Linked DNA regions of Homo sapiens: region 1 is linked to region 2. Evidence: promoter capture Hi-C in human tissues and cell types (Jung and others, 2019). All regions are on one chromosome and are shown on one strand. Each heading gives the region's core, a stretch centred on a gene start or on the middle of the fragment in contact. The rest is flanking DNA. Distances are from core to core; before and after follow the strand shown. Region 1 has its middle 14 kb from the start of INPP4A. Region 2 holds the start of ACTR1B (actin related protein 1B).

Evidence for each region. Contacts are between HindIII fragments. The study calls those that stand out against the background at their distance.
Region 1: a fragment that was not itself captured here is called in contact with the fragment with the promoter of ACTR1B in region 2 in 1 of the 25 tissues and cell types used here (hippocampus).

What each region holds. Positions count from the first base shown.
Region 1 is chr2:98,429,811-98,432,510 of GRCh38, forward strand. No RefSeq gene overlaps it. Among named protein-coding and RNA genes, the nearest start is that of INPP4A, 14 kb to the right of the region's middle. The HindIII fragment of the contact is 4,356 bases long and covers 1-2,700 here.
Region 2 is chr2:97,662,792-97,665,596 of GRCh38, forward strand. It overlaps ACTR1B (actin related protein 1B), which reads right to left and starts at 1,253. Exons shown (of 11, transcript NM_005735.4): 1 at 1,052-1,253. The coding sequence starts at 1,099. LOC124900516 (U4 spliceosomal RNA) reads right to left here and starts at 1,940; the gene lies at 1,800-1,940. It also overlaps a transcript of C2orf92 not described here and the pseudogene RNU4-8P. RefSeq lists enhancers at 1-356, 322-391, 1,432-1,771 and silencers at 752-811, 892-1,351. The HindIII fragment of the contact is 10,185 bases long and covers 1-2,805 here.

The DNA.
Region 1 (2,700 bases), core at 138-2,637, 770 kb after region 2:
TTTTCTTTTTTTCCCCTTTTTGCCCAATAAAATCCTGCTCTACTCACCCTTCCATGTGTCCGCGTGCCTAAATTTTTCTGGTCGTGTGACAAGAATCCAGTTTTAGTTGAACTAAGGAGCAAAGTTCTGCAACATTTTGGCGCCCAGACGTGGGGCTTGAGGAGGGGTAAGATGTGAACCAAAAATTCTTTTTCCCTTTCACTTCTAAGCCTTTTTGTCCTCAGACTTCTTCTGAGGTAGAGGAAGCTGTGCAGGAGCCCACCCCAATGGCTGCAGGCTCGAGGGATGAATGGGCAAACGGGGACTCCCCTGCCTTGCTCCCGGCCAGGGCTAGGAACCCGTTTGTATAAGAATAAGAGGTTCTTCCCCCAGGCATCTTTCCAACTCTGCACTTTAAACTTTTTTTTTCCTTTTCTCTACACTGTCAGCAGTACACTTTTAAGTGAGAGGGGTTTTTTTTTTGTTTTTTTCTTCCTTTTCGAAGATGTTTTACTAGGCCAGGAATGAGAAGGATCACTGTTTATAGTCTCTGCAAAGTTTTGATTATGAAAAAGGATTTGTGAGGTTGGTCTTAAGGTGTAGCCAATCTGGTGTGCTTTGCACGCCTATGTGAATTGTCTGTAGCAAACTTTGCTGAAGGCTTCCATCTTGCTTTATGCCCTTGGAAGCTGGCCTGTAACCACGTGGCAATGCTTTGTTTAGCCTCTGCCATTTTACAGTGTAGCCGGGGTTCAATCCTGGCTTAGAGACTCAGTACTTTAAGGTTGATACCTGTGTGACTTTTGCCATTTGCTGACTCTCTTCTTCTCCATGAACAACGTCTAGGCTTTTTCTTAAATCTTCCTTTCTCTGGGTCATCTTTAAAGGTTCTAAATTTTGTGAGAACTGCTTACCCCGTTTGAAAATACCTCATATACTCACGGTTAAATCATAGTCTTAATTGAGGCTTGTTGGTTTCACCTGCAAGGTTACTTTCAGTAAGATTTGAAAGCCAGAAATATTGGCCACTTGGCAGGGCTAAAGTCAGGTAATAAGGGAGTTAAAGGGATTTTCTTAAAGAGTGCTCAGCTTAATTAAAAGTGGATATCCTAGTTATAGGTATATTTAAAAGGCCTTTATGTTTTTCTTTTCTTGGATCTTGTTTTGCTGGAAACGGGTTTTTTCTCAGTTGACTAAATTCTTTTTCTCCATTTTCTCTTGCTACTCTCATTATATATGCATCGTGTGTGTAATGTCTATAAAAAGACCTCTAATTAATTGGCCTAAAGGAAGATCAGTGCTTTGCCGAGACCAGCTCGGTCGGGGAGACCCTAACCCAGCAGCGCTAGAAGAATTAAAGACACACACAAAGAAATATAGAGGTGTGAAGTGGGAAATCAGGGGTCTCACAGCCTTCAGAGCTGAGAGCCCCGAACAAAGATTTACCCACATATTTATTAACAGCAAACCAGTCATTAGCATTGTTTCTATAGATATTAAATTAACTAAAAGTATCCCTTATGGGAAACGAAGGGATGGGCCAAATTAAAGGAATAGGTTGGGCTAGCTAACTGCAGCAGGAGCATGTCCTTAAGGCACAGATCACTCGTGCTATTGTTTGTCACTTAAGAATGCCTTTAAGCTGTTTTCCACCCTGGGCGGGCCAGGTGTTCCTTGCACTCATTCCCATAAACTCACGATCTTCCAGCATGGGCTTTATGGCCATCATGAACATGTCACAGTGCTGCAGAGATTTTGTTTATGGACAGTTTTGGGGCCAGTTTATGGCCAGATTTTGGGGGGCTTGTTCCCAACAGTGCTTGGATCAAATATTTTTTAAAGGGAAAATAAAAGCTGTGGTACCTTTTAGTTCACATGACTTTAATCTTTGAGAAATAAAAACAGCCTTAAAAATTATTGGTGAAATGCAGATGTCCTCAAAATGTAAATAGGTGAACTAAATTATGCAGGTCAGATACTAAGTTTGCTAAATGTTTTAAGGTTATAAACTGCCTTTTTGGTTTTTGAGAACTGTTTGACTTGCCTGCTTCACAATTGGTAAGGCCTGGGAACATATGGAATTAACCATGCCCTTAATTATGCTGGAAGCAGTCAAACCTTGGCTGCACCCAGCACATAATTAAATTACTAGGTTTTGCATTAAAGTTAAAAATCGCTAAGAATGACCATTATAACATGAAATTGAAAGTACTGGAAATAGATTTACATGTGAGGTGCATAAGAACAGTAAGATGTGTTTTTAGTAAAAGATTGTACAAAAGCATGGAAATGTAAATCCTTGCCTAGGGTTAAAGGATGATTTTTGAATTAGATAAGATAAAGCTGAAGGTTTAAACAAATAATGGAAGGATTGTAAAAATTAATCTTGCAAAAATTCCATGTGTGAATATATTGACTAAATTCAAAAGGGTATTATATGATTTTTCTGTAAATTGAGCATTGAAATAAAAGCACAGCAAGGTACTCTTAAGGCACTAATATTCTCTTTAGCAAAATTTGTTAGGGTTATAAAAGGTTTTTGTTTTTTAAACTTCTGAGTCATCATTTTGGCAAAATAAGTAACATGGTAATCTGGAATTCTATTTCATAACATCAAGTGTTTTAAACTTCTAACATATTTTAACAGACTTCCTAAAATCAAACTTCAGTTTCAAAATTGTCTTTCCTGATGCCTGACATTTGGATGCTACAGAGGGCCCC
Region 2 (2,805 bases), core at 3-2,502:
CCTATACGAGTTATTTGCACGTCAAGAAAGGAAGTAGCCTGCTCCTTCCTGCAGCGTCCTGCTGGTGTGACAGCACGTCCCCAAGCTCAGTGCTAACCTCCTTATTAAACATCCCCTGCTGTGACTCAGGGAACCCACATGGGTACTCTAAAACAGTCATTCAGGGACCCCACGGGGTCATGTGGGAGGGAGACAGATCCCAGAAAGAGCACAAGTGAGTCATTACCAAAAACTCCAAGGCCCGCACACCGGACGCACATACCCAGCTAGGGGCAGACTCAAAGATCCCAGCCCTTATCTTCTCCCCATATCAGAGCTCGGAAGCCAGAAATCTTCCTAAGGCAGGTGAAAGCAAGCCGAGCCCCACTGCTGAAGGACAAAGCCACAGGAAGCCTGATGACATCTTTCCTCTGAGGCTTCCAAACGATCACCCCAAATTGCTTGCTGATACTGGGAAGAGTGGCCATGAACTCTCCATTGCTCTGCTGGCTGTGGAATGTTTGCTCAGCACAGGAAGCATTTAAGGAGAAAGTCAAAGTAGCCAAAAGGCAAACCAGATGGTGGTGGACATGTGGGTGACAGAGCATCCTGCATTTGTTGCCTCGGGGTGCAGCCCCAAAGATAAAGCCAGCAGTGTGCAAATGACAAATGCTACCCCACCTCCGCCAGGCAGCCAGAGCCAGGGCCGAAGGACGCGGAAAGGAACTGGTGTGGAAACCTGCCCAGGAACCGCACTCTCAACTGAGAAGAGTCCGGGGCGCGTCCCCGCCCGGCCGCCCGGCTGTCACTCAAGCTCTCCTGAACTTCCCCGCCCGACTCGGGGAGGGGTCGGGGAAGAGGCTCTGCGACGCGGGCGAGGGGGCTCGCCCCATGGCCGGCCTTACAAGGCCAAGAGGGCGCGCGCCCCCGGGGCGAAGCCAGCGGCCCGGCGGGGGCGACGGCCACGCAGTGAGCGGAGGACGCGCCGAGGCGGGCGGGGGTCTCTCCCTGCGCCGCCGCGTGCGCCCCCGGGGGCGGGGCGCCCGCCCTCCCCCTGGCTGCCGGGCCTCACGTTGTCGATGACCACAGGCTGGTTGGCGATGATGTCGTAGGACTCCATGGCCGGGCCGCGCCGGCCCTGCCCAGCAGGCGGGCTGCAGGAGGCACCGGATGGGCGGGCGGGCGGGAGGACCGGGACGGCGGCGGCTCCCGACGCGGCGCCGCTGCCCTCCCTCCCCGAGCCTGCAGCCTACGCGAGCCCCGCGGGGCTTTCTGGAGGGCGGGCCCGGCGGCCAATCATCGCTCCCACCTGGCCCGATTGACAGCAGGTGCCCGGGGCTGGCTGCGCGAAGGGGGCGGGGCCTCCGGAGGCTGGCCAGCCAATTGAGGTCGTCCGGAAAAAAGTGGTCGCGGCGTTGCCAAGGTAGGCTGCGCAGTGTCTGGGATGATGTCATGGCTCCGTCTTAAAGGGGACGCGGGCGGCAGAAAGTGGAGCTGGGCTGGTGTGCGCGCGGCCGGAGTCTGTGGAGCTGGAAATTCACCGGTCCAGGAAGACGTCTTTCCCGCGTCCCAGCACCGGTCCAGAAAGACGTCTTTCCCGCGTCCCAGCACCTCGGGCCACGCTCCTTCGTGAGAGCGCCCTCTCCAAGGAGGCCGGCCCTGGATATTTCACCCAAAATATTTATTTTTTCTTTTTTTCTAGGTAAGGTGTCTTGCTCTGTCGCTCAGGCTGGAAATCTTGGGCTCAAGCGATCCTCCCGCGCCAGCCAGTAGGGGGGACTACAGGCGCGCACCATATTTATTTATTTTTACTGAAATAGTCTCCGTAGAGACTGTTAAAAATTGCCGATGTCGACTATATTGCAAGTCGTCACGGTGGGGTATTGCGAAAAGTTTTCAATTAGCAATAATCGCGCTTCGGATAAACCTCATTGGCCACCATACGGCCACCGCGCAACGCTAGCTAATTAAAAAAAATTTTTTTTGTAGAGAAGGGATCTCGCTATGTTCCCCGGGCTAGCCTCGAACTCCTGAGCTTAAGCGATCCTCCCGCTTAGTCTTTCCAAAGCGTTGGGATTACAGGCGTCAGCTATTGCGCACGGCCCCATAATATTTCCTCGTTGAGCACTGAAGAAAAGATCCTTTTCCTTATAAAAATTACAGTTTCGTGGTATTTTGGTCCTGGCATTTATTGAGCACCTGCTCTGTGCCTGCGGAGCACTTCTGCCCACTTTACATAAGTTATATTAAATCCTTGCAACAATATCAGGTAGTTGTATTATTACTCCCATTTTTCAGTCAGGGTCTTCACACTTTGGTAACCTGCCCAAGATTATTGGGTGTGGAATTGGCATGCAGGTAGCCCCCTGCGGCACTGGAGTCAGCTGCTTCAAGAGTGCAGGATAGTTGAGTTCTACATTTGTTTACCAAACGGATCCATAGTTATTTCCCTGTATATATACCTCTCCCAATGGGTTGTGAGCATAAAATTTGTAAAATTGAAGCGGGTGTGCAGAAATCACAAGTGTACATGTACATTTCAATGAATGATTAAAATGTGGACACACTTGCATAACCACCGAGTTCAAGAAACAATATTGTTGCTGGAAAAGGGGTCCCGATCCAGACCCCAAGGGAGGGTTATTGGATCTTGCCCAGAAGAAATTCAAGGCAAGTTGCAGAGTGCAGTGAGAAGCGATTGTTTATTGAAAGCTACTCAGTTACAGAGTAGGCCATCCTCAGAAAGCAAGAGGGGGAACACACCCTCTTTATATTAAACTCTTCTTATAGAGGGGTCTTATCTATGTAAAAACTAAGCTATGTCTA